Linked DNA regions of Homo sapiens: regions 2, 3 and 4 are each linked to region 1. Evidence: promoter capture Hi-C in human tissues and cell types (Jung and others, 2019). All regions are on one chromosome and are shown on one strand. Each heading gives the region's core, a stretch centred on a gene start or on the middle of the fragment in contact. The rest is flanking DNA. Distances are from core to core; before and after follow the strand shown.

The links. Contacts are between HindIII fragments. The study calls those that stand out against the background at their distance.
Region 2: the fragment with the promoter of PHLDB1 here is called in contact with the fragment with the promoter of HMBS in region 1 in 1 of the 25 tissues and cell types used here (stomach).
Region 3: a fragment that was not itself captured here is called in contact with the fragment with the promoter of HMBS in region 1 in 1 of the 25 tissues and cell types used here (dorsolateral prefrontal cortex).
Region 4: a contact is called between a fragment that was not itself captured here and the fragment with the promoter of HMBS in region 1, in 1 of the 25 tissues and cell types used here (spleen).

Annotation. Positions count from the first base shown.
Region 1 is chr11:119,081,659-119,088,448 of GRCh38, forward strand. It overlaps HMBS (hydroxymethylbilane synthase), which reads left to right and starts at 3,223. Exons shown (of 14, transcript NM_000190.4): 1 at 3,223-3,408; 2 at 6,597-6,650. The coding sequence starts at 3,376. VPS11 (VPS11 core subunit of CORVET and HOPS complexes) reads left to right here. Exons shown (of 16, transcript NM_021729.6): 16 at 1-314. RefSeq lists enhancers at 2,824-3,521, 3,451-3,500. The HindIII fragment of the contact is 11,043 bases long and covers 1-3,742 here.
Region 2 is chr11:118,603,680-118,610,585 of GRCh38, forward strand. It overlaps PHLDB1 (pleckstrin homology like domain family B member 1), which reads left to right and starts at 3,936. Exons shown (of 23, transcript NM_001144758.3): 1 at 3,936-4,020. It overlaps LOC124902765 (a long non-coding RNA gene), which reads right to left and starts at 4,832. Exons shown (of 2, transcript XR_007062908.1): 1 at 4,444-4,832; 2 at 1-3,509. RefSeq lists a cis regulatory region at 973-1,168, silencers at 4,428-4,517, 4,578-4,647 and enhancers at 4,775-5,069, 5,107-5,781, 5,782-6,455. The HindIII fragment of the contact is 15,479 bases long and covers 1-6,906 here.
Region 3 is chr11:118,702,994-118,709,899 of GRCh38, forward strand. It overlaps LOC105369519 (a long non-coding RNA gene), which reads left to right. Exons shown (of 4, transcript XR_007062909.1): 3 at 1,615-1,845; 4 at 5,389-5,850. It overlaps LOC124902766 (endogenous retrovirus group K member 7 Env polyprotein-like), which reads right to left. Exons shown (of 3, transcript XR_007062912.1): 3 at 6,344-6,906. Among named protein-coding and RNA genes, the nearest start is that of TREH, 27 kb to the left of the region's middle. RefSeq lists an enhancer at 1,721-2,222. The HindIII fragment of the contact is 5,774 bases long and covers 208-5,981 here.
Region 4 is chr11:118,757,397-118,764,302 of GRCh38, forward strand. DDX6 (DEAD-box helicase 6) reads right to left here. Exons shown (of 14, transcript NM_004397.6): 7 at 5,816-5,910; 8 at 2,526-2,648; 9 at 1,378-1,506. Among named protein-coding and RNA genes, the nearest start is that of DDX6, 30 kb to the right of the region's middle. The HindIII fragment of the contact is 8,956 bases long and covers 1-6,906 here.

The DNA.
Region 1 (6,790 bases), core at 1,973-4,472:
CCAAGAGAACAGACACAATGGGACCTGGGCGGGCGTTACACAGAAGGCTGGCTGACATGCCCAGGGCTCCACTCTCATCTAATGTCACAGCCCTCAGAACTAAAGCGGACTTTCTTTCCCTGCCTTCTTATTTAGTCAGCTTGCCATCCCTCCTCTTCACTAGCAGTGTAGATCATTCCAGATCAGTGGGGGAGGGCACCTCAGCAACCTCTGAGTGTGGACAATAGCTGCTTTCTTCTCTATCCAAGAGCACCAGGCTGTGCTTGGGTCCTTGCTCTCAGAGTCTATAAATAAAAGAATATAATGATTTGGGAGCTTAAGGATTTTTTTCTGGGGACTTCCTGGTGATTCTTAACTGCATGATGGACTTCCTTCCCTCTGCTCTCCTGGCGTTCCACTTCCCTCCTACGGTTTTCTTGGAGACCATGTTGACTCAGTCTCGTTCTGGTAATGGGTGGGGCCTGTGGCATCGCATACAGTTCAATTTACTGAAGAACCTCTGCAAAAGACCTAATGACTGAGCTCCAGGAGCAGCCTGGACCAAGACCCCCAAAACAGCTCTTACTCTTTCCTCTTCCTGGTCTCTATGGCTGTAGTTTGGGCAAAATATTCAAGCAGGAGGCAGATTCTGGTAGGGAGCTTTGGGCTTAACCTACCTTAAATAATGGGTAGGTTGGTGTCTTGCTATACTTAATACCAGATGATAAACGGGATAAAAGGTCCTTTCTGGAAACACCTTTCCCTCTCTGAAATTGTCAGCTAAAGTTTATGTTGCTAGGTGTCCCCGTGTAATTTGGGTGGTGCTGCCTGTCTGAAAATTGCTCCTATGTTGTCGTTTTCCCCACAGCCTCACCTAATTTCATCTTCTACGTTGTTTAATTGGAGGACGTAAGTTTGACACTGTGGTTTAGGTAGTATTTAGGATTGCCATGGGCTGGGCGCGGTGGTTCATGCCTGTAATCCCAACACTTTGCGGGGCTGAGGTGAGAGGATCGCTTGAGTCCAGGAGTTCAAGACCAGCCACCCAGGCAACATAGTGAGACCCCGTCTGTGCAAGAAATAAAAATAAACTAGCCCAGCCTGGTGGCGCTTGCCTGTGGTCCCAGCTACTCAGGAGGCTGAGGTGGGAGGATTGCTTGAGCCCAGGAAGTTGAGGCTGCAGTGAGCCTTGATCACACCACTGCACTCCAGCCTGGGTGACAGACACCCTGTCTCAAAAAGTAAAAAATTAAAAAACAGTGGCAGTATTGTAGCTGCTATGCTATGAGTAGACTTTGCATCTACTGAGCTGGGTTTGAATCCTAGTTGTGCTGTTTGACTTAAGGCACATCTTACCTTCTCAACATGTTTTTTTTTTTTTTTTGAGATGTATTTTTTTCAGTGGGTTTTTGGGGAACAGTTGGTATTTGGCTATGTGAATAAGTTCTTTAGTAGTGATTTCTGAGATTTGGTGCCCATCACCCAAGCAGTGTACACTGTACCCAATGTGTAGTCTCTTATCCCTCACCCTGCTCCCACCCTTTCCCCCTCAACCTGTGTCTTCATCTGTACGTTAGGGATTATAACACCTATGCTGTGTGGCTATTATGAAAGCCTAAGGATCAAATAGGTGTTCAGTTCTTTGTACAGTGCTGAGCACATGGGTGATTTTTTTTTTCTTCTTAAGACAGGGTCTCACCGGGCGCGGTGGCTCATGCTTGTATTCCCAGCACTCTGGGAGGCTGAGGTGGGCGGATCACCTGAGGTCAGGAGTTCAAGACCAGCCTGACCAACATGGTGAAACTCCGTCTCTACTAAAAATACAAAAACCAGCTGGGTGTGGTGGGAGGTGCCTGTAATCCTAGCTACTCAGGAGGGTGAGGCAGGAGAATTGCTTGAACCCGGGAGGTGGAGGTTGCGGTGAGCTGAGATTGCACCATTGCACTCCAGCCTGGGCAACAAGAGTGAAACTCCATCTCAAAAAAAAAAAAAAAAAAAAATGGGCGTCTCACTCTGTCATCCAGGCTAGAGTGCAGTGGCACCACCACAGCTCACAGCTACCTCGACCTCCTGGGCTCAAGCGATCCTCACACCTCAGCCTCCTGAATAGCTGGGACTACAGGTGTGTGCCGCCACACCTGGCTATTTTTGTATTTTTTGTGGAGATGAGGTTTTCACCATGTTGCCCAGGGTGGTCTCAAACTCCTGGGCTCAAGCAATCCTCCTGCCTTGGCTTCCTAAAGTGCTGGGAATATAGGTGTGAGCCACTGCACCTAGCTGGGTGATTATTAATAATCATGATTGTTAATTATGTTCATGATTACAGGCGCGGTGGCTCACGCCTGTACTCCCAGCACTTTGGGAGGCCGAGGTGGGCGAATCACCTGAGGTCAGGAGTTCAAGACCTGCCTGACTAACATGGAGAAACCTCATCTCTACCAAAAATACAAAATTAGCTGGGTGTGGTGGTGCGTGCCTGTAATCCCAGCTACTCGGGGGGCTGAGGCAGGAGAATTGCTTGAACCCGGGAGGCGGAGGTTGCAGTGAGCTGAGATCGTGCCATTGCATTCCAGCCTGGGCAACAAGAGCGAAACTCCGTCTCAAAAAAAAAAAAAAAATTATGTTCATGGGAAAGCACTTTTCCTAACAAGCCCTTTTCTCACTACATGTAGCGTTTGTGCTCCCACTTCAGTTACTTGTCTTTAGGCATGACCTTTAATCTCTCTGAACCAGTTTCCTCATTTTAAGAATTGAAATGCTGGCTGGGCCAGTGGCTCACGCCTGTAATCCCAGCACTTTGGGAGGCCAAGGCGAGATGACTGCTTGAGTCCAGGAGTTCGAGACTAGCCTGGGCAACATAGTGAGGCCACCTCCCCGCTGTCTCTATAAAAAAATCTAGAAATTAGTCCCACGTGGTGATGTGCGCCTGTAGTCCCAGCTGCTTGGGAGGCTGAGGTGGGGGGATCGCTGAAGCCGGGAGGTCAAGGCTGCAGTGACCCGTGGTCATGCCGCTGCACTCTAGTCTGGGGACACAGTGAGACCCCGTATCAAAAAGAAAAATGCTGCCTATTTCAAGGTTGTAGCAAAGCTAAGTTTGAACAGAGCAAAGGAAGCGCCATAGAAGCTGCACTACTTGCTCATGTCACAGCTGGGGAATGGGGTGGTCGAATGGGGAGGTCCACTGTCGCAATGTTCCAATTCCCGCCCAGAGGGAGGGACCTCCCCTTCGAGGGAGGGCGCCGGAAGTGACGCGAGGCTCTGCGGAGACCAGGAGTCAGACTGTAGGACGACCTCGGGTCCCACGTGTCCCCGGTACTCGCCGGCCGGAGCCCCCGGCTTCCCGGGGCCGGGGGACCTTAGCGGCACCCACACACAGCCTACTTTCCAAGCGGAGCCATGTCTGGTAACGGCAATGCGGCTGCAACGGCGGTGAGTGCTGAGCCGGTGACCAGCACACTTTGGGCTTCTGGACGAGCCGTGCAGCGATTGGCCCCAGGTTGCCATCCTCAGTCGTCTATTGGTCAGAACGGCTATCTTTTTTTTTTTTTTTTTTTTTTTTTTTTTGGTCCGAGTAGCTTTTAAAGGGCCAGTAGCTCGGTTGCCCTCCGGAAGGAATGGGGAAATCAGAGAGCGGTGATACTGGGTTAAGAGTGGAAGGATTGTTTGGAACGGAACTCCGGTCCCTGCGGGCATCTGGGTGGGATTCCCATCAGGCCTGGGATGCACGGCTCTAGATTTAGTGACCCAGACCAAGAACGTTCGTCTACACAGACGGGGTCCTTTCATTCGAGGCTGGGCTGAGGCGGATGCAGATACGGCCCCTTTGGGAAGACACGTTCCACTTTTGATTCATAGGAGAGAGTATCAGCCAAGCCTCCGAACTGCACACAAACGTCTTAGAAGTGCGCCTTCTTTTTGTGTTATAGTGGTCTCCCAGCCACAGCCAACGCTCCAAGTCCCCAGCTGTGACACACCTACTGAATTACTACCGTGGGTGGGAGGCCGCCGTGGGCCTTTCCATTACGAGCCTGCTTGCCGAGCCCTGGGCTTGTGCACAGACAAACTGCAGAGCTGGTGGAGGCCACTGCCAGGCCGAGATAAGAAAGAGATGGGGAGCTGCTAATCTCCCCCTGTCCAGCCTGTTGGTGAGGGCTGGGATCTTTGCTCTTGCAGTCATTCCAGAGCCCTGGACTAGGAGTAGGAAGATCTGAATTGTGGCCCCAACTCTCTTTCGGTTATTAGCTCTGTGACCCTAGGCAAGTCACCTCATCCCTTGATGCCACCCGTTGCTTCTGTAACATGGTCCCAAAGGTGCCTGTCTTGTCCACCTGATAGGATTTTTGAGACGACAACAATATGCAAAAGCAATAGCTTCAACATAGAAGTGCTCAGTGTTTTATTTTTTAATGAAACGGTTTGACTTGGATATGCTGTGCACATTCAATGAACTTAAGGAATTGTTTGAACCTAGTAGTTCTGGGACCTTAGAGTCCTTTCTGTGGGCTCCCTGTGGCCCAGAATTTTGGTGGCCACGTTTAATATCAAGCCTAGCCTAATTTGCAAAGGGTCTCCCAGGGTTAATTTATTGGAGTGATCACATGGAGTAGACCAGAGTCTGAGGGCAGAAAGCTGTCACCTGCTTCGGCAATAGAGGCCCCAGATGTCTGGGTGCAAAAGAACTCCATAGCACCCCGACCAACATGGTGAAACCCCGTCTCTACTAAAAATATAAAAATTAGGCCGGGCACAGTGGCTCATGCCTGTAATCCTAGCACTTTGGGAGGCCGAGGCAGGTGGATTGCCTGAGCTCAGGAGTTCGAGACCAGCCTAGGGAACACAGTGAAACCCCGTTTCTACTAAAAATACAAAAAATTAGCCGACGTGGTGGCATGCGCCTGTAGTCCCAGCTACTTGGGAGGCTAAGACAGGAGAATCGCTTGAACCTGGGAGGTGGAGGTTGCACTGAGCCGAGACCGCGCCATTGCACTCCAGCCTGGGTGACAGAGCGCGACTCCCCCTCAAAAAAAGAAAAAAAAAAAAAATATATATATATATATACACACACACACATATTTTAGCTGGGCATGGTGGTGTGCGTCTGTAGTAGTCCCAGCTACTTGGGAGGCTGAGTCAGGAGAATCGCTTGAACCTGGAAGGCAGTGGTTGTAGTTAGCTGAGAACATGCCACTGCACTCCAGCCTGGGCAACAGAGGGAGACTCTGTCTCAAAAAAAAAAAAAAAAGGAACTACATAGGATGAACATCCCAGATCAGGGAATGTTGACTGTCGACAGTATCAGTATCTACAGTGGCTACTGTCTGATGTAGAAAGAAATGGGATCAGGCTAGGCGTGGTGGCTCACGCCTGTAATCCCAGCACTTTGGGAGGCTGGGGCAGGAGGATCACAAGTTCGAGACCAGCCTGGCCAACACAGTGAAACCCCGTCTCTACTAAAAATGTGAAAATTAGCTGGGCATGGTGGAACATGCCTGTAGTTCCAGCTTGAACCCAGGGGTGGAGGTTGTAGTGAGCCTAGATCACGCCACTGCACTCCAGCCTGAGCAAAACAGTGAGACTCTGTCTAAAAAAAAAAAAAAAAAAAGAGAGAAATGGGACCTCCGTCTTAGACTGAAGAATTCAGTTCTACGTGCTTAGCAGTGAATACTTTTGTCCAAGGTACTCTGGCAGGAGGAAGAGGCGTGTCCTCTTGAGTTCTTGACTTGGGCTCTGGCCTGTTAATATTTCCATGTTGGTGAAACCAGAGGCAGCACTCTAGGTGCACGAACTTTAGGCAGCGCAGCCTCCTAGTCTTATGGAACATCTGAGGCAGAAGAAACCTGAGTCCAACCTTTTCATTTTATAGATGAACAAACAGATCCTGGTGGGACAGTGTACCCAAGGTCACCCAGCCAAGAGGCTGAGCAGGACTGTACGTCAGATCCGTTTACCTCAGTCCTTAATGCATGCAGTCCAGCCAGATTAAGGGACCCTTAATACTGTCAGCTTTCCCCACTGTGGGATCTTCATCCTCTTGACTTCTTTTGTAGCCAGACATCTGGGCCTCTTGCTGGAGAAGGTGGCAGCTTGCTGCTCTTAGACTCTAGTCTACTCCATGTGGCATCTGGATGGCACTGAAATTTTCTCAAGTGCCTTGTCTGTTGTAGATAATGAATCTATCCTCCAGTGACTCAGCACAGGTTCCCCAGTGTGGTCCTGGCTGCCCTGCCCCTGCCAGCTGCAGGCCCCACCCTTCCTGTGGCCAGGCTGATGGGCCTTATCTCTTTACCCACCTGGCTGTGCACAGCACTCCCACTGACAACTGCCTTGGTCAAGGTGGGCTTCAGGGCTCAGTGTCCTGGTTACTGCAGCGGCAGCAACAGCAGGTCCTACTATCGCCTCCCTCTAGTCTCTGCTTCTCTGGATCCCTGAGGAGGGCAGAAGGTACTGAGGAAGGTTAAAGGGACCAGCCTTGGAGTATTTCCCCACTCTGAGACTCAGCTGGCCACAGGCCAGGTTCTGAAGTTCCTTTCTTCCAAGCCAGTGATTCTGGTTCTTGGACAAGGTGTTGAGGAACACTAGAAACAGAGGGGACTGTGACCTGGGGACTTTTTCTGCAGGAAGAAAACAGCCCAAAGATGAGAGTGATTCGCGTGGGTACCCGCAAGAGCCAGGTGGGTGCAGGAGCCGGGGTGGAGGAGGTTTGTCAGAACAGTTATGATGCTCACAGCATCACAAATTGGGGGACTCAGAGGGTTAGTTCCTAGTATGAAGGAGATGGGGTGGCTGGGCGTTAAGTTCCCCGGGAAATGGC
Region 2 (6,906 bases), core at 2,686-5,185, 480 kb before region 1:
GCAGTGCAGTGACATGATTTCGGCTCACCACAACCTCCACCTCCAGGGTTCAAGTGATTCTCCTGCCTCAGCCTCCTGAGTAGCTGGGATTACAGGCATTCCACACCACCACCCCCGGCTAATTTTTGTATTTTTAGTAGAGACGGTTTCACCATGTTGGTCAGACTGGTCTCAAACTCCTGACCTCGTGATCCGCCCGCCTCAGCCTCCCAAAGTGCTGGGATTATAGGCCTGAGCCACCGCGCTCCGCCAGAGCTGCTTACTTTCTTATGCTTTTTTAAAATTTAACTTGGAAAAACTATTGGGTGTCAAAAAATTGGAAGGCAAATTATTCTCACTTATTAAGTATCTGGGATGAGAAATTTCTAATGTTGAAAGCCAAGATTCTGATTTTTTTTTTCTTGGTGAAAAAAAGTATCTGGTCTAATGTTGCTCAAGTGTGGCTTAGCTGTCTGAGACTGTAGCCTTAATCGAATGAAATGATTAAGGTCTGTCATTCCTTTACTCACCATAGCTTCAAATTTGTCAACCCATGCATCTCTGATGGGAAACTTTGCCCTCCAATTAATTTTTAAATTGTGAACAGTTTTAAAGTTGTTCACACTGGCTAGGGTCTGAGATTTCCAGGGTTGATATAGAATAGCTTTTTATTAAACTTCACATCTGACAGGGCTTATTGGAAGGAGACAGGAGAAAAATGGAAAAAGTCATCCTCAAGAAGATTAAAGTCTAACTGGAAGCAATGACTATCTGCTTGTGAAGCCTTTTTTTTTCCAAGTTAGACAAGTGTTAACTACAGCTAGTACTAAACATGGATCTATATGAGAGTAGGTAACATGGCTTCTGTCTTGTAGGCTCTAGAGGAATCTCAAGCAAAACCTCACAAATGATTTTCTTTTGCTATGCACATCTGTCTTATTACAACCCCCTTACCCCCAATTCCCTTGTCCTAGAAGATCCACAAGTAGGTTGGTTGCTGTGCATTGCTGTTACCCAAGGGCAGACAGCAACACTACAAATAGCTGCCTTAACGTCTTATCCTGGGGAGTTGGGGATTGATACGGAGGTAGGCCTTTAGAAAAATTAGACTATCTTTCCAAACCAGGCTGTTTTCCCTCTCACAATCACAAGTCAAGCTATTAGGCAGTTTTCAGAAGCTTGGACCACTTCTCCCATCCCCCACCGCAGTTTTTTTGCCCTGCTGTTCTTAGGGCAGGGGCTAAGTGGTTATTTAGGGTCTAAACCAATACTGGAAAGCTTCCCTAGGTTTACTCTGGGTGATCAGATTGATTACCAAACCAGGACAGGGGCTGTTTGAAAGAAGCATTAGAAATTCAAGACAATGAGAGAAATTGAAATAGGTCTTGTCTCCCATTCTTTTGCCCAAATGAATGCTTGTTCTTTTAGCTCATTAGGAAAGCCCTTAGCCTTGGAGGTACACAAGACCAGTCTTCTGTCCTACCCAAATTTCCCACTTAGCTTGGATGCATGTTAGCTTTGGGTCGAAGCAGACTATGCAATTTCTAAGACAGCTGAAAAGAGAGCTTTGAACTTTTCCCCAAGTTGCTGCAGGGTCATTGCTACCACCACGCCTACACCAATGATGCCTGACTTCAGGATCCAGAGGCCAGAAACGGACAGCTTTCTGGAAGAGGGTGTGTATCTACAAGGATTGCTTGCTGTATGAGCAATAATCACCTCTCTGGGGCTAGAGGGAGTACAATTTGAGAGGTGGGACAAAGTGGGGAATGTGCCAAGGCAAAAGCAGGAGTATGGAAATTCACTCCTGACACTTGTAGCCAATGCAAAGGGCCTTAGAAAAATCCACTCTTCCTTCCACACCCAGGCTTTGCCCTCTCCCCCTGCTTCCACTTCGGAAAGTCTGAAGCAGGCCTGGAAAGCTGTTTTCTGCTTTCTTTCCCTCTCTTCCTCCCCCTTTCCTGAGCTCCCAGCTGCTCGACCTCTTGCGTAACTGTGAGAGAGCGCTGAGTTTTTTGATGGGCTCCAGATGTGGAGCAGGGCGGAGATGGAGAGTGGGGGCGGTAGGTCTTTAGTCCCCTGAGTGCTCTAACTGTGGGAACATAGAGGCCTGACACAGCAGGGGAGAGGACACATTGCACAGCGCCTTTATCATAGGGTCAGCTGGTCCCTGTGTTGGGAGGTCAGTGAGAGAAGTTGGGTGCTGTTTCGACCCTCTGCCTCAGCATCCACTGCCTCCATGGCAGGCTTGATTATTCCCTGAAATTCCTCCTGCCCAGTACAGTAAAGAGGAGCTGGGGGCCGTGAAACAGAATGAAGTGAAAAGCCTCTGAGGTACTGCAATCTGGACCCCTCCCCTCAGTGCTGGGTCTTGGCACATGGGATACAACAGTTTGGGTTTTTTCCTTCTTCCTTTTTTTACATACCCAAATAGCCTGAATATTACTGTTGTGATCTGCCTCATGAAGGTTCATCAGAATTACTTTCATGACTTCAAACAGTATGAAGAGAGGAAAAACTAGAGTCTCGCTCCTCAAATCCTAGGACTTCCTGGTACCCACAGCATATTCTGGATCTTGAGTGTTCCACCTCCATTAGCTATAGCAGGTGGCAGCAAAGGGCGGCCTCTCCCCTCCCCCTCCTTGTCTGCTGCTTGGCCCCGGTCAGCTTCAGTCTCCAGCCGTGGGGGGTCCCCTGCTAAGGCCAGCCCTGTCAATGAGTGACCAGAGATTCCTGTAGTTCAGCCTCCTGCTGTTCCTGGGTTAGGGAGAGACGGCACAAACTAAACTCATTGAATTAGAACAGCACTTGTCCATCTCAAAGAGGATAAATTATTTTTTGCTATCCACCCCAGCTGGAATTTAGACCAGACTTACAGGCTTTCTGCTCCTTCCTTCAGTGAAGAAGAGTCTCCAGGGTCCCTCTAGTGCAGGTCAAAGAAGTCCAGTCCAGCTGAGTTCAGCTCCCTAGGGCCTCCCCAGCCAGTCTCCTGGACCAAGAGCTGGCTTTGCAAGGTAAGGATCCACTGTCAGCGTTGGATTTCGGAGTGGAGGTTGAGATGGAGAATGACTTCAACCTAGCTCAATTTGGGGGCTGCTTTTAGGTGTTTAGTGCCTCCTTCTCTTCCTTATTAACTCCCACTCCTACTACAGGTTGGTGTGCTCAATTGTATGTCTATAGCCTGCCTCCATCTCCCAATCTGTAATCCAGCAAGTCTGTCGGGGTGGAGGGGTGTGGAGCTCCATGGGGGCAAGATGATAATTCCATTCGGTTTTCCTGTGCTTTGGAGTTTGCATGACACTTTAACGAGTCTTCTTGTGCCTATCCTTAAGAAAGTCTGTGAAGCCTGATGTGCGTGGCTATCAATGTCATTTACAGCTCTTCATGGTGGGGCTTGGAATAGGGCGAGGGGAGGAGGTGACAGGGAGAAGACCTGGGTACCCTCAGTAGATGTTCTGGAGATGTTGAGAGCATGTTGTAGGGGCTTCGATTTGGGAGGTTCAGTGGGAGCCCGTGGAGGTTTCAGGCATCTAAGGCAAAAAGAAAGAGGGGAGAGTTTGGGGGAGGGAGAACGGATTGTCAAAAACACCCTCTCAAAAGCGTGTTAAAGCCTGGGAGTGGAGGGTGGTCTAGGAGAGTCGGGAGGGCAGGGTGGGAGGAGAGGGGGATGTGTGGTGGTGGTGGTGGTGGTGGTGGTGGTGGTGGTGGTGGTGGTGGTGGTGGTGGTGATGGTGGAGAGCCCAGCTGCAAAGATGAACAAAGCGGGCGCTGTGCAGGCTGGGGGAGGTGCTGCTGTGGGAAAGGGTGGGTGGGGGGACCTTGGGCTCCAGCCCCACAAGGGCGTCTTCTTTGGCTGGCCAGGCGGACGGGACGGGGGACGGGGGCGGGGACTGGCGGGAGGGGGGCGGGACAGGCTCGCTCTCCTCCTACTTAGCGAGCTCCCGGGGAAAAGCAACGGTGTCCTCCTAAGCCTGAGGCCACCGCGACCGAGCCGAGCCAGGCTAAGGGACCAGTGTCTCCCTGCCCCCCCCCCACCTCTAGGTAAGAGCGCCCCGTCCCACTACACTTGCGGGTCCCATTCGCTGCGGTGCTAGGACTGGATAAGGGGAAGTCCCCGGGGCCTGGCGAGAGCCCTGAGATCAGCTCTAGGCTAGGGAGCTCGGCAGAAACCCGTGGGGGAGAGAGGGCACCCCAGGTGAGTGCGTGGGGGCGAAAGGAGCGTTATGGGGAGTTTTCCTGTGAGCCTCTTGCTTTTGCCTTCCTCGGCCGCTGCCAACGCCACCGCCAGAGGGGGCCGTGACGCTCTCCCCCCCTTGGAGAAACTCTGATCCTGGCCCTATCCAGACTCTCCCGCCGGCACCCAGGCGGCCGGGCGGACACTCGCGGGGTATCGGGCGGCGAGCGCGCGCGCGGGTTTTCGTCCTCCAGCGCCCCACACCTCCCCCTCTCCGCCCACAGCAGGACCTTGGGGCGGGGGTATCTCCTGTGACGTCTCCCCGCCTGTCCCCAGGCCGGCCGCCTTGATGGACCAGGAAGGGATTCGGAGTCCGGCTCAGAGTCTTGAGCGTCTAGGAGGGCTGCCTGGGGGTGTCCAGGAGATGGGAAGCCCGCCTGGGGCCTCCCAGGCACTCCCCAAGGCCCCACGTCCTCGGGGGCCGGGGAGGCCGCCTGGGGCGCCTTGCCACGCCCGCGCGGTCCCTATTGGAATCCCTAGCGGAGTTCCCCGAGCGGAGGCTGACCCAAGTCATCCGGGCTCCCCCGGGATAGGGAAGTGCGGGCGGGCGGCTGGGTAGGGGCGCCGGCGCAGGGTGGCCGAGTCGCCCGCTAGCGCTTCCGCCGAGGCAGGCTCGAGTGGGGACTTGGCCGGGCGACCGCACAGCCCTGCCGGGGACCCACGGCTCTGGGGCGGGGCTGCATTCTGGGCCGTTAGCTCAGCGGTCCTGGAGCCTCCCGAGGCTGACTCATCGGGCGGCGGGCTCACCCCCCAGCCGTCAAACGCAAACGCAGGCGCCCCACCACGCCGGGCTCCCACGCGGCACACACGCACGCCTCCGCGACACTTCGCACACCTACGTCCCTGCGTCACGCCACCCAGACACACCCGGACCCGCCCACACGCCGAGGCCTTCCCACGCACTCCATGCCTTACGCCTCACAGGAAAGCGCCCCGCGCTCACGCAGCCCCTCACACCCGCAGCCCCGCTTACACGCGCCCCAGCTCACACATGCACCCCAGTCACACAGCCTACCTCACACACGCACCCCAGTCACACACACAACCCAGCTCACACACGTACCCGTCACACATGAGGCCCCAGCTCACACACGAAGCCCAGCTCACACACGCAGCCCCAGCTCTCACACACACACCCCAGTCAAACACGAGGCCCCAGCTCACACACGAAGCCCAGCTCACACACACTGCCCCAGTTACACAGCCCAGCTCATGCAAGCAGCCCGTCACACACACAGCCCAGCTCACACACACAGCCCAGCTCACACAAGCAGCCCGTCACACACACAGCCCAGCTCACACACACAGCCCCAGTTATACACACACAGCCCAGCTCACACACGCAGCCCGTCACACACACAGCTCAGCTCAATACACAGCCCAGCTCACACACACAGCCCCAGTTACACACACAGCCCAGCTTACACACACAGCCCAGCTCACACACACAGCCCATCACACACACAGCCTATCACACACACAGCTCAGCTCAATACACAGCCCAGCTGACACACGCAGCCCAGCTCACACATACACTCCAGCTCACACACGCAGCCCGTCACACAGCCCCAGCCACACACACAGCCCAGCTCACACACGCAGCCCAGCTCACACATGCAGCCCCCTCACACATGCAGCCCCAGTCACACACACAGCCCAGCTCACACCGCAGCCCCAGCTCACACACGCGGCCCCTCACACACATTCAGCCGCCCTTCCCGCAGCTGCCAGGCTCGGAACGGGCGGTGTCTGTGGGGGCCGCCCCGTTTCCCGGCCGCGCAAACAAGCGGCTCCTTCTCTCTGCCCCGCCAAAGAAAGGCCGCTTGTCAGGGGCGGGCGGGCAGGCGGCAGCGGCAGGCGCCCAACACTGCGGCCTTGTCCCACGCGGGCAGCCTGGGCAGGAGCAGGCCGAGGGGTGCAAGGGGCCGCTACCTTGCGGAAACCTCCCTCCCTCGGCCCTGCGGACCGCGGAGAGGCACCTTTCCACCACCGGACACCCAAGCAACAGCCCTCGCTCCATCCGCGCTCTCCCGGCTCCCCCTCTCCTCGGGCCGCCCATCTCTCCTCTCTTCCGCCTTTGGGGTCCCGGTGGGCCCCAGCCTCCCTCTCCTTCGCCCCATCTCCCCGCCCGTCAGCCTCCCCTCCGCTGCCCTCGCGCATCCCCAGTGTTCCCGTCTGTCGTCGCCTCCACTTGAGGACCCGCCTGTCCTTTCTTCCCCCGACCCCTCCACCTCTGTGTTCTTCAGTCTCCCCGCATCCTCTGCCCTCGGTCTTCCCCTCCCCAGCTTGCATTTTTTCCCATCTCTTAGTCTGCCTTTCATTTTCCCCTTCACATCCCGGTGGCTCCCCTTCCCCGCCCCGTCCCTCTGCACACCCCCATTCATCTCTGTCAGGTTTTTCTCATCCTTAAGTTCTCTCGTCCCCCTCCCCACTCGGGCGTCCCCCGCTGGGCTCCCCGCCTCAGTTTCCTTCCCTTCCTGACTCCTTCCTCTGACGGCGGCCCTTTCTCGAGGGCGGATGTGCGCCTGGAGGGCGAAGGCGGCGGCCGAGAGGACCCCAGCTCGGCCTGGCGGGCCTCTGGCCACAGCCATGCACCGCTTGGGCCGAGGCCGAGGCCGACCCCCAGGGACACAGGTGAGGCCGGGCGACCCGCGGGGCTCCGGGGAGCGCCCGAGCAGTGGCCCCGCGAAGGG
Region 3 (6,906 bases), core at 1,845-4,344, 380 kb before region 1:
GGTGAAAACACGTCTCTACTAAAAATACAAAAAATTAGCCCGGTGTGGTGGCATGCGCCTGTAGTCCCAGCTACTGGAGAGGCTGAGGCAGGAGAAGCACTTGAGCCCAGGAGGCAGAGGTTGTGGTGAGCCGAGATCTCGCCACTGCACTCCAGCCTGGCGACAGAGCAATACTCCATCTCAAAAAATAAATAAATAAAATAAATAAATAAAAAAAAACACTGACACAGTGGGGATGAAGTTTCAATGTAAATTGCAGAGAGGACAACATTCAAACCATGGTACCTAGTCATAGTATTTTACTCTTTTCTTATGCTTTTAATTCCTGAAGTATCTAGACTTTCTAATCCTATTTTATAATACCTTTGTAGTCCTTATATAACATCTGTGTTTTGGTATTTGTTTCAGGTTTTTTCCTAAGTATGTGTCAAGATCCCATTTTCCAAGTCAAAAATGGGATTTTGCTACACATTATTTCATAACCTGCTCTTTGTTTTTCACATGATAAGGAACTTAAAACAACACACATCTTTTTCTGAGGGCAGAAATTTGGGCCCAGCTCACCTAGGTTCTCCGCTTCAGAGCTTTACCAGGCTGCTGTCCGGGTGCTGGCTGGGGCTATGGTCTCATCTGAGGCTCAGCTGGTCTCATCTAAGGCTTAATATTGGCCCCCAAGCTCCCTCAGACTGTTGGCAGAATTCTTCTCCTTATGGTTGTAAGACTAGAACTGGGGTTCATGTTTTCTTGTTGGCTGTCAGCCAGGGATGGCCCTTAGCAACTAGAGACTACAGTAGTTCCTTGTTGAGTGGCCCTGTCACCACAGAGAAGCTTACTTCTTCAAAGCCAGTAATAGACGGAGAGTCTCTGACCCTCTGAGAGGGCCCAGACACTCTTTCAAAGACTTCCACCTGATTTAGTCAGGCCCACCCATGAAAATGCCCCCTTGACTTCAAAATCAACTGACTTAGGACCCTAATTATGTCTGCAAAACCCCCTCACCTTTTTCACAGTCTATTAGCTGGAAGTAAGTTGCAGGTCCTACCGGCGCTCCAGGGGAGGAGGTTACACAGGGTGTGAACACCAGGGAGTGGGACCACAGGGCCCATCCCTGGGTCTATTCATACCATGTTTACCTTTCCATGTCAGTATCTTTTCTTTTCTTGGTTTTTTTTTTTTTTTTTTTTTTTCAGATGGAGTCTCACTTTGCTGGCCCAGGCTGGAGTGCCGTGGCCCCATCCTGGCTCACTGCAACCTCTGCCTCCCAGGTTCAAGTGATTCTCCTGCCTCAGCCTCCTGAGTAGCTGGGACTACAGGCATGTACCACCACACCTGGCTAATTTTTGTATTTTTAATAGAGATGGGGTTTCGCCACGTTGGCCAGGCTGGTCTTGAACTCCTGACCTGCAGGTGATACTGCCCGCCTAGGCCTCCCAAAGTGCTGGGATTTACAGGCACGAGCCACCGTGCACGGCTGTTATTATGTTTTCTACCACCTTCTAATGTTAATGGCCTCACAGCATTCTACTATGTGGATGTGTCAACATTTATTTAATTATTTATCACTAAGCACTGAATAAACATAAACATTTTAGTTTATTCCTTTTTTTCTTACAGACAGCGCTGGGGAGAATGAACGCCTGAGTACTCATGTCTTTATGCACTGTAGTATTATTTCCTTACAACAGACTCCTGAACCTGGAACGGCAGTGTCAAAGGGTTCACAAAATGTTAGACTTCTGAAGCAAATCAGATGGCACCTTTTTTGAATAATGAAGAATCTTTACCCCTGGCATGAGGAGCTGAGGACAACTCCCACTCCACGATGTGAAGCCACAGAGTTTCGAGGTAGTGGTTAATGGTGGTTGTGATTTTTTTGTTTTTGTTTTTGAGACAGAGTCTCTGTCACCCAGGCTGGGAGTGCAGTGGCACAATCTTGGCTCACCACAACCTCTGCCTCCCAGGTTCAAGCGATTCTCCTGCCTCAGCCTCCTGAGTAGCTGGGACAGGTGCCCGCCACCATGCCTGGCTAATTTTTGTATCTTTAGTAGAGACGAGGTTTCACCATGTTTGCCAGGCTGGTCTCGAACTCCTGACCTCAGGTGATCCACCCGCCTTGGCCTCCCAAAGTGCTGGAATTACAGGCGTTGAGCCACCACGCCCAGCTGGTTGTGATGTTCTAATTTGGACTTGGAAGTCAAATAATCGCCCCATGCCCTGTGGTTGCTGTGGTTGCATGCCCTGCCCCGGTGGAAGCTGGGGAAGTGTTTCCTGTCTGTCATCCCACCCATTCACGTGTCCTTATTATGGGTGAAGCCCAGAGAGCGAGAGCTCTCATTGTGGCCAAGGCTGCAGCCTTGCCACTGTCACGGAGCACAGCTCACGTCTCCTCTGAGCCGTTATTTTGTTTGTATGAACCCAGAATGTATGTAAATTCTGATGGGGTAAGCGGGCAGACAAAAAGGTCACTGAAGTGTCCCAAACAGAATCTCATTGTGTACTGGAGAGGAGGCAAAATAATCACTTGCCAGAGGGCGGAGCTTGGTTTTGTGGGACCTGAAGCTTAAATAATTTGGGGAGGCCTCTTTAAGAAAAAGAATCAAATTATGAATACAAAATTAGGATGAGGGTGTTTGAAGGGCCTCATGCAAGTGCGGTGCCTGGGACTTCAGCTTCATTAACTTCGCGTTCAGTCTACGCCTGCTTGCCAGTGGACTGGGTTTGTCCTGCTTGGAGTCTGGTTTTGTTTGTTTCCAAACTTATAAAATTAGATGTCTTTTCTTCTTTCCTTTTGCATTTGCAAGTGTATTAACATTTAAGAATTGAGCAGGCCTTCAATAATATAGCTTCTCTCTCTCTCTCTCTTTTTTTTTTTTTTTTTTTTTTTTTTTTGCTAAGATGACTCTAACCCCTCCCTGCTTCAAATCACGAACTTGCATTATAGGCACACAAAGGATGCTGACTCCCTCCAGCAGCCTCGTTTGCAGTACGGAGCCTGGGGCCCTTAATGGGATAACAGGGAAATGGGGAACTGGAAAGAATCTTCCAGCAGTTGAGTCTGTTTGCCCCAGGCACCATGTTAGATGATTACATTGTGTTCCTTCGCCCTTTTGCCAGGGTGACGGGCAGGCACTCCCAGGCTCTCCTCAAAACAGCTCCGATTTTAAGAGGGAAAAGCCAGGACACCACAAGTTGCAGTTCAAATATGAAACTGTTAGCAGAGTCATTTTGGCATAAAACCCACTGTATTAGTTGGTCTCCCACCAGGAAACAGATGGCATATTCAAAATAGGATCACTGGAGGAGAGTTTATTTGCAAAGATGTGGGTGTCGGGGAACCACAAAGGATGGCGCAGTAATCCAGAGTTTAGCAGCAGCCAGGCGGTGCCCTCACGAAGCTTGAAGGGATGAAGGGGAGAACAGTCCCTGGCACCCACAGGGAGAGAGCGGTGCTGCGAGGCCCCAGGAAGAGAAGATGTCATTGTCCCTTGAGGGATACAGCCAGCCAGGGAAATAAACACCCTGACCTCCCTCTCCTGTCTCCCTCTGGCCACCTGCCACGGGAGTTGGTGGATGTGGACCACACTGGTCAGCCTCAGAGGGCAGGGTGGAGATGGTGAGGGGGTGCATACGGAGGGGCAAACAAAAGGTAAATAGCCCAGCCCAGCCCTTTGGCCTCTCAGCACCCGCTCTAGACTTTTGTCCAGGTGAAGAGCTTGTTCGCCTAACACAGGGGATCTATAAGTCGTAATAGCTACCATATCATTGTGGACTGATGTCAGCTGGTCATACTCTCAGCTGAAATCGCCGGTGTTCCTCAGTTAAGGTAATGAGTAAAACGGGGTGCAACGGAGTGAATTTTTTTTTTAAGATGTTTCTTGCTTTGTCCCCTAGGCTGGAGTGCACTGGCATGATCTCTGCTCACTGCAACTGCTGCCTCCCAGTCTCAAGTGACTCCTGCCTCAGCCTCCCAAGTATCTGAGGTTGCAAGTGCACACCCGGCTAATGTTTGTATTTTTAGCAGAGACAATGTTTTGCCATGTTGGCCAGACTAGTCTTGAACTGCTGATCTCAAAGTGTTGGGATTACAGGCGTAAGCCATGGTGCCCAACCCAACAGAGTGAATGTTTACGTCTCCTCGCAATTCCTGTGTTGAAATGCTGACCCTCAAGGGGATGGTGTGAGATGGGGCCTTTGGGAGGTGATTAGGGTACGAGGATGCGGTCCTCATGAGTGGGATCAGGTTCTTATAAAAGAGGCCCTAGAGGAATCCTTTGTGCCTTCTGACATGTGAGGCCACATGAAGAAGATGCTGGTTATGAGCCATGAAGCAAGCCTTCACCAGACGCCAAATCCGCTGGCTCCTCGATCCCCTCGATCTGAGGCTTCTCAGCCTCCAGAACGGTGGGAAATAAATTTCTGTGATTTATGCTACACCCAGTCTATAGTATTCTGTTACAGTAACCCAGATGGATTAAGATGGAGAATGGATTGAGATGGGGAAGAAAAAAAGCCCCAAATTCATGAAATGTAGCTGCTACAGTCCCCACCTCCTTAGCTGTCCCCAAAACCTAAGCAGGTAATCATAACTTCCATTCTGTGCTCACCTTACCTCTGCTGGCACCTTTTTGGACAGGGTTCTCTACTTGGCGAGGTGACCCAAATCTTCATTCCTGCAGGGTCTGAGTCCTCGGCCGCTGCGATCGTTTGAACATTGTTTGTCCCCACCGAAACTCATCTTGAGGCTTGGTCCCCACTGTAATGATGTTGAGAGGTGGCGGGACATTTAAGGGGTGTTTGAGTCATGAGGGATCCAGCTTCACGAAGGGATTAGCGCAGGAGTGCGTGAGTTCTTCTTGTGGGACTCGATTGATTACTGCAGTTGCCAGTTGTTACAAAGCAAGGCTGCCTCTGGCCGCGTGCCCTCTTCTGCTTCCTATTTTCTCCCATGCTAGAAGCAGCACAAGGCCCTCACCAAATGTGGCCATCCATTTTGGACTTCTCAGCCTCCAGAAGCGTGGGCTAAGTAAGCCCCTTTCCTTTGTAATTTACCCAGTTGGACTAAGACAGGTGTTTTGTTATAGCAATGGAAAACAGACTAAGACAGTTGCATTGTATTTGGGGGTGGCCACAGTTTTCCATTGACTAGGACTGTTGGACTAGGAGTGCTCCAGTGATGTCTCTGATTTCAGACACTGTCTTCCTCGCCCCTTTTCAACAGCAGCAATCCAGTTTCATCCTGTGATCAGGGTCCATCCTCTACCTACTACCATAACCCCTCTCTTTGCTTCTTGGTCTATGGCATGCAGAGCCCCAAATGAGCAGGGAGTAGCTTCAACTTCCGATTCATCAGAAGCATGACTGTTTCCTCTAACAGCATTTCTTTTCTAGGCCCCAGGACCTCCAGCGTCAATGTTGTGGGATGATGGGTGACAGAGCCAAAGCATCGCCATCTTGGACAAGCACGGTCATTCTGAAGTTCCCCTTGATCAAAAACTGCCTAAACCCAAAGGATATCAGCCTGATGGCTAAGGTCAGCATGACCATAAACCATAAATAACATCTCTGACCAGGAACATTCCAAACCCCTCCATGAGACATGCCAGCCCTGAGATAACCTCCCCTCCGGCCAGAAAGATGTCAGACCCAAGATAACCTCCCCTCCGACCAGAGACATCCCAACCCTGCCATAAACTTCTCCCCCACACAGAAACATTCTGAGCTTGTAATAAGCCCCCTCATCCTAAAACCAATATATACTCTTAGTCCGTAAGAGAAAGTGCTCCTGAACAAAATTGGCCAGAAGCCCCTCTCCGGCTTATTTTCTCTAAAATACATCTGTCGTTAAATTGAGCCACAGTTCGTGTTTCTTCCCTCTTTCTTTAACTCTTACAATGGGAAGCAAACTTTTTTAGTGGGTTATTAGGAATAATAGTGAAAAGCATAATTCTCCTCTCCAGGCCTTGCTTCCTGGACCCACACATCTCACCTGTGGGGAAGATGGAACCATATATTGGCCACTGGTTTAATGTACAAGATGTGTCTCCAGTCCCAATGGTAGACATCCTATAGCCAAGACTCCATCCAATTGCCTGACCTCCACATGTCCCTACTCTGACTGGAACCTTGTGGGTAGTTTAGGTCTCTGAGGATCAGTCAAGCTCAGAGCAAGATTGAATAACCCCTGGAAGGTGTGGATATTCCTATTTCCCCAGGATCAGAGGCATATTTACCATAAAGCTAATGATGCTTATGCTTCAAGACTGCTCACTTACTAAAGCCCTGGTGTTAACATGATCATATGCATTTATAAAATTTGCAAACATAAAAAATTTTTTAGTTGGGCTTTATTTTTTTTTTAATATTTTTCATTTTTCGAGATGGAGTTTTGCTCTTGTTGCCCAGGCTGGAGTGCAGTGGCACGATCTTGGCTTGCCACAACCTCTGCCTCCCAGGTTCGAGGGATTCTCCTGCCTCAGCCTCCCGAGTAGCTGAAATTAGAGGCATGTGCCACCATGCCCGGCTAATTTTGTATTTTTAGTAGAGATGAGGTTTCTCCATGTTGGTCAGGCTGGTCTTGAACTCCTGACCTCAGGTGATCCGCCCACCTCGGCCTCCCAAAGTGATGGGATAACAGGCATGAACCACCGTGCCCCACCTGGACTTTATTTTTTATTATTTATTGATTTTTTGGAGACAGAGTCTTGCTATGTCGCTCAGGCTGGAGTGCAATGGCAGCACTGCCTCCTGGGTTCAAGAGATTCTCACCTCTCAGCCTCCCGAGTAGCTGGGACTGCAGGGGCACACCACCAAGCCTGGCTAATTTTTGTACTTTTTTTTTTTTGAGACGGAGTTTCACTCTTGTTGCCCAAGCTGGTAGTGTAATGGCACTATCTTGGCTCATTGCAA
Region 4 (6,906 bases), core at 3,054-5,553, 320 kb before region 1:
CTTAGAATCTCATGATATGAGAGAGATGGTAAATTGTAAAAATTGTAAATAATAGATGGAAGATAATAATATCTAAGATTTACCGTATTAGAGTATATTTCTTAAGGGCCACATAACTGTCAACAAGAGTAATACAATTGATTATCTGATTCAAAGTAGTTATGTTTTATGTGTTTCCATTTAAAAATATTTTATTTTATTTTTTTTTTGTGAAATGGAGTTTCACTCTTGTTGTCCAGGCTGGAGTGCAATGGTGCAATCTCAGCTCACTGCAACAGCTGCCTCCTGGGTTCAAACAATTCTCCAGCCTCAGCCTCTTGAGTAGCTGGGATTACAGGCACCCACCACAATGCCTGGCTAACTTTTGTATTTTTAGTAGAGACAGGGTTTCAGCCTGTTGGTCAGGCTGGTCTTGAACTCTTGACCTCAGGTGATCTGCCCACTTCGGCTTCCCAAAGTGCTGGGATTACAGGTATGAGCTACTGTGCCCAGCCAAGAATACCTTCTTTAATATACTCACAACCAATGCCACCAGCATTGGGCAGCACTTCAGCACCATGTGTAGGGGCCAATTAAAACTGTGAAATCAGCAACAAAAACTTGAAAAACATGGCAGACTGTGAAAAGGACCCTTGTTCACAGTATGAGAGCTAAACAAGAGGACAGAGATTGCTTTCTTCGACCTCAGCTGGGAATGTGCATGTCAGGTGACTTAAACTCTTTGCCACACTGTACACGTCCACAAATGACTGCTGAACTACCTTGAGTATTAATTCCGGAGTTACAAATAAATTCTAGTGACTAAGCAAATTCACAAATACAGAATATGTGAATAATGAGGATTAACCCTAGTTAAGGTCAAAGTATTTCAGAAACTATTCAAAAGTGTATCTGTGACTTGGTTAATCATTTAGTATCAACTTTAGGTCAACAACTAAACCTGCCTTTTAGGAAACACTATGAATTATTTTTTAATCTTTTTTTTTTTCTTCCCAAGACGGAGTCTTGCTCTGTCGCCCAGAGCTGGAGTGCAATGGTGCAATCTCAGCTCACTGCAGCCTCCGCCTCCTGGGTTCAAGCAATTCTCCTGCCTCGGCCTCCCAAGTAGCTGGGATTATGGGCACACGCCACCATGCCCAATTTTTTTGTATTTTGTAGTAGAGATGGGGTTTCACCATGTTGGCCAGGCTGGTCTCAAACTCCTGACCTCGTGATCTGCCTGCCTCAGCCTCCAAAGTGCTGGGAGGCATGAGCCACCGTGCCAAGCCAGAAACACTACGAACTTTTATACAGTGAAGACGGTGGGAAAATTGATGAAATCATCTGTTTTACTGGGACTCGAGAGATAATATTCAACAGCAGAAGCCTACTTCTTACCCTGGAGAAAAGTGTGTTGAGGCAGTGTACTTTTTGGCGCTCAGTTACATATGCGTAGTACTGGGTTACTCCCTTCAGAGTTAGTTCCTCCATCAGGTTAATCTCATAGGGTTTCTGCAAATGGGAATTCTGGGGGGGGAGCGGGAAAAAGATGAGTCGTCGTCTTAAATGAAAGCAGAGTTCATCTCAAATTCAAAATATACCCTATACGTTTCTGTCCGATAAACTCTTGCTGTAAGGGACGCAACTCTCTTCAAAACAAAATATATGATCTGTCATTACAGAATTTCCCCCCTGCCACCCTGAGACAAAATCTTGCTCTGTCACCCAGGCTGGAGTGTAGTGGCACGATCTCTGCTCCCTGCAACCTCCACCTCCCGGGTTCAAGTGATTCTCCTGCCTCGGCCTCCCGAGTAGCTGGGAATGCAGGCATGCACTGCCATAACAGACTAATTTTTGTATTTTTAGTAGAGACGGGGTTTCACCATGTTGCCCAGGCTGGTCTCGAACTCCTGACCTTGTGATCTGCCCGCCTCGGCCCCCCAAAGTGCTGGGATTACAGGCATGAGCCACCATGCCCGACCCGATAGAAATAAATTAAGATATAAGATCTCAAAAATGCAGCTAAGTTACTACAGGTTGAGTATTCCTTACCCAAAATGCTTAGGAACAGAAGTGTTTCAGGTTTTAAATTTTTTCTAATTTTGGAATATGTGCATTACACTTAGTGACTGAGCATCCTTAATTTGAAAATTCAAAATCCAAAGAACATTTCCTTTTAGCATCATGTTCGTGGCTCAAAAGGTTTCAAATTCTGCAGTATTTTGGATTTCAGTTTAGGATACTCAAGCTCTGTTTTGTATATAGAATAATACCGGAATCAATTCAGCTAGCACCAATGGCTATGTCATCATGACACCAAAAACTAAGTGAAAGATGAGGAATTTAATTAAGTTACTATTACAACCTTCTTAAAAAGTCAGTTAATTTACGTAAAACAAATCTTTAATTGATCAACTGAAGAAAGAGCCAAAGGCTTGAAATAATTAGCATAAAGTATATTCACAGATATGAAGATGTAATTACAAATAAAAGCATACTCAAAGGTCACAGGATGGCACTGATTCCAAGTACAGATTTATACTCACCATGAACTTCTGTACACTAAGAGGGAAAGTAGCGGAATATAGTAAAATCTGCCTGTTTTTAGGTAGCGTGAGAATAATATCCTCCATTATCTGCACAAAATCCTGTGACAGCAACTTATCTGCCTGCAGTAGAAAGAAAAGACAATTTTAAAAACAATAAAATAATGTCTAAGGTCTTGGTTAATACATGGTCAAAGAATAAGGCATCATCCAACAAAAGCATCCATGAAATGTTCCTGGTGGAAAACAATAAATTCTCTCCAACACTGCAGAGAGTCAAATATGCAGAAGGGGGCAAAATCTATAATCCCCATCTTCTAGGGGAAAAAAAAAATTCTACACTACACAGACAACCTCCCCCGCTTTCTGTAACAGAATTTAATTAATTTATTTATTTTTAGAGACAGCATTTCACTCTGTCACCCAGCTGGAGTGCAGTGGCATAATCGTATCTCACTGCAGCCTGAACTTCCTGGGCTCAAGTGATCCTCTTGCCTGAGCCTACTGAGTAGCTAGGACTACAGGCACATACCTCCATGCCCAGCTCCACAACAGAATTTTAATGTGATGATTCTCATTAAAGAGGTAGTATGGTGTAGTGTTTAAAAGTACGGGTTCTGGCCGGGCGCGGTGGCTCACGCCTGTAATCCCAGCACTTTGGGAGGCCGAGGCGGGAGAATCACGAGGTCAAGAGTTTGAGACCAGCCTGACCAACATGGTGAAACCCCATCTCTACTAAAAATACAAAAATTAGCTGGACGTGGTGGTACGCACCTATAATCCCAGGTACTCGGGAGGCTGGGGCAGGAGAATCGCTTGAACTTGGGAGGCGGACGCTGCAGTGAGCCAAGATCACACCACTGCACTCCAGCCTAGGCGACAGGGCGAGACTACTCCGTCTCAAAAAAAAAAAAAAAAAAAAAGTAAGGGTTCTGAGGCCGGGTGCAGTGGCTCACGCCTGTAATCCCAGCACTTTGGGAGGACCAGGCGGGCGGATCACCTGAGGTCAGGAGTTCAAGACAAGACTGGTTGATATGGTGAAACCCTGTCTCTACTAAAAATACAAAAATTAGCTGTGCACAGTGGCAAGCGCCTGTAATTCCAACTACTCAGGAGGCTGAGGCAGAAGAACTGCTTGAACCTGGGAGATGGAGGTTGCAGTTGAGCTGAGATCGCACCACTGCACTCCAGCCTGGGCAACAGAGCAAGACTCTGTCTCAAAAAAAAGTACAGGTTCTGGAGCTAAACTGCCAGGTTGAAATCTTGCCTCCTTCATTTCTCAGCTGTGTGGGAATGTTACAGAACTACTCTGTACTTCAGTTTCCACAACTCTAAAATTGTAAAACTATTAAAATTTGGATGTTTACATAATGTAGTAACTACTTTACCGGGATTTAGAAAAAACTTGGCTAAGGCCAGGTGTGGTGGCTCACGCCTGTAATCCCAGCACTCTGGGAGGCTTAGGTGGGCAGATCACTTGAGGTCGGGAGTTTGAGACCAGCCTGACCAACATGGAGAAACCCTGTCTCTGCTAAAAGTACAAAATTAGCCCGGCATGGTGGCACATGCCTGTAATCCCAGCTACTCGGGAGGGCTGAGGCAGGAGAATCGCTTGAACTTGGGAGGTGGAGGTTGCGGTGAGCTGAGATCGCACCACTGCACTCCAAGCGGGGCAACGAGACTCTGTCTCAAAAACAAAACAAAACAAAACAAAAAAGAAAAAACTTGACTTTCAAGTTATCCAGCCACTCCTCTTCTTAAAAATTAAACCTAAACTCTGGCATCTATAAGACAAAAAGCTGAATTCCTATGAATGCCTATCTATTGCATCTGAAGTATAAAACGTATTTTATAAGCAAATTAGAAGTTGGATGTCTACATACTATAGTAACTACTTGACAGGATACCTACCTTATAGGTTTCTTGTAAAAATTAAATGGAAAAAAAAAAAAAAAAACAAACCATGTAAAGCACTTAGTGCTGGTACCCAGTGATTAATAAATGTTCTCTCTCATTACTTAAAGATAAAAGTCTGATTTGAATTAAATCATGTTACCTAAAACACAAACCAGGCCGGGCGTGGTGGCTCATGCCTGTAATCCCAGCAATTTGGGAGGCTGAGGCAGTAGGATCACCTGAGGTCAGGAGTTCGAGACTAGCCTGGCCAACATTGCAAAACCGCGCCTCTACTAAAAATACAAGAATTAGCTGAGCGTGGGTGGTACATAATTGTAATCTCAGCTACTCAGAAGGCTGAGGCATAAGAATCACTTGAAGCGGGGAGGCAGAGGTTGTAGTGAGCCGAGATCACGCCACTGCACTCCAGTCTGGGTGACAGAGTGAGTCTGTCTCAAAAAAAAAAAAATAATAATAATAATAATAAACCTCAACCCAAATGTGAAAATAACCTCATGTCAAAACATTAACAACGCTGATCACTATAGATCCTCCTTGACTTACAATGGGATTATGTTCTGATAAATTCATCCTAAGTTGAAAATATTACCCAAACCTACTGAACATCATCGCTCAGCCTAGCCTCCTTTAAACATGCTCCACTTACCTTAGCTTACAGTTGGGCAAAATCACCTGCAACGCCGTATACTGTAGAGTATCGGCTGTCTGCCCTCAATCATCATGTGGCTGACTGGGAGCTGCAGTTTGCTGCTGATGCCCAGCATCATGGGAGTATCATATAGCATATTACTAACCAGGAAAAATATCAATCTTAAAAATTCAAAGTACAGTTTCTAATGAAAGCTTATCACTTCCACTGAAAAACTGTAAAGTGAACCATCTTAAGTCAGGGACCATCTGTACATGTACAAAACATGGCTAGATCCCAGGACTACAGATTTTAATAAGTTTTTAAAAGGCATTTATAACATGGTGAGATAATACATGTAACAGAGATTAAAAACCAAACAGTACAAAGTAGTATGCACAAAATGAGAAGAGACAATATATATTATATGCTTTTAAAAATTAATCACAGAGCAGAAAGAGACTTAGAATAAATTTGGCATTGAGGTTATTCACTCCTCTACTAAAAAATTAAAACCTAATGTCTGCTATCTCTAAGAAAAAGACAAAATGCTGAATTCCAATGAATGCCTATAATCTACTCCCTCTGACGGGTAAAACACATTTTATAAGCAAATTAATTTAAACTGATTGTTTATGTGTTTATTAGATCATAAACACAAGCAGCTTTTGCTTCATTCACTGGCAGTTATAAGCAAAGCACAGAAAAGTACAGAACAGTATAATGCCAAATGAAGAGACATTACCTCATCCAATACTATCATCTGGACATGATCAACCTTTGCTACTCCTTTCTTAATAAGATCCAGGATTCTCCCAGGGGTAGCAATCACCACGTGCACTATGCAAGATTTAGAAAACATACATTCTCATTAATTTTAATTTGAGCAAAGAGGATAAAGGTTTATAATATTACAGTCCTGAGCTGCTTAATGATAATTCTGAGAAATGCATTGCTATGTGATGGTATAGCCTACTCCATTGTATAGCTCCATTATAATCTTATGGGAACACCGACATACGTGCAGCCGTCACTGACCACAACATTGTATGCAGCACATGACTATCTTTTATTAGAAACAACTAGGCCGGGTGCAGTAGCTCATCCCTGTAATCCCAGTACTTTGGGAGGCCGAGGTGGGTGGATCACATGAGGTCAGGAGTTCGAGACCAGCCTGGCCAACACGGTGAAACCCTGTCTCTACTAAAAATACAAAAATTAGCTGGGTGTGGTGGTGGGAGCCTGTAATCCCAGCTACTCAGGAGGCTGAGGTAGGAGAATCGCTTGAACCCAGGAGGCAGACGTTGCAGTGAGCCGAGATCACACCACTGCACTCTAGCCAGAGCAACAGAGTAAGACTGTGTCTCAAATTAAAAAAAAAAAAAAAAAGAAAGAAAGAGAAGAAACACATTGTGTTATAGAGGTGGAAATAACACAAAAAGGCACAAAGATGTGTTTTAGGATAAAGACTTCCATTTCACCACAGGATGCTTAAAAAATATTTGTTTCACCTCTACATTGGGTGGGGTACAGCTTCCTAAATCACCTGCTGCTTTCAACAGTAGGCATACTTTCTTGTCTTAGGATAATTCTCAATTAATAGCAGAAGGCACACCAGACTTCTGACATAAGAGCAATGCCTCTAATCTAGAGCAGTGAGCCGAGTATTGTTAAAAGGATCAAACAAGATAATTTTTTAAAAACCTATGCAATACAAAGAATGTATCACATAATTATCATATATAATATTCTAACTAAAATCAAGATATAATTTTATATGAGTGATCTCATTCTTGCTGTTTTGTTACCTTTTTCCACTCGGCAATGTATCATGAA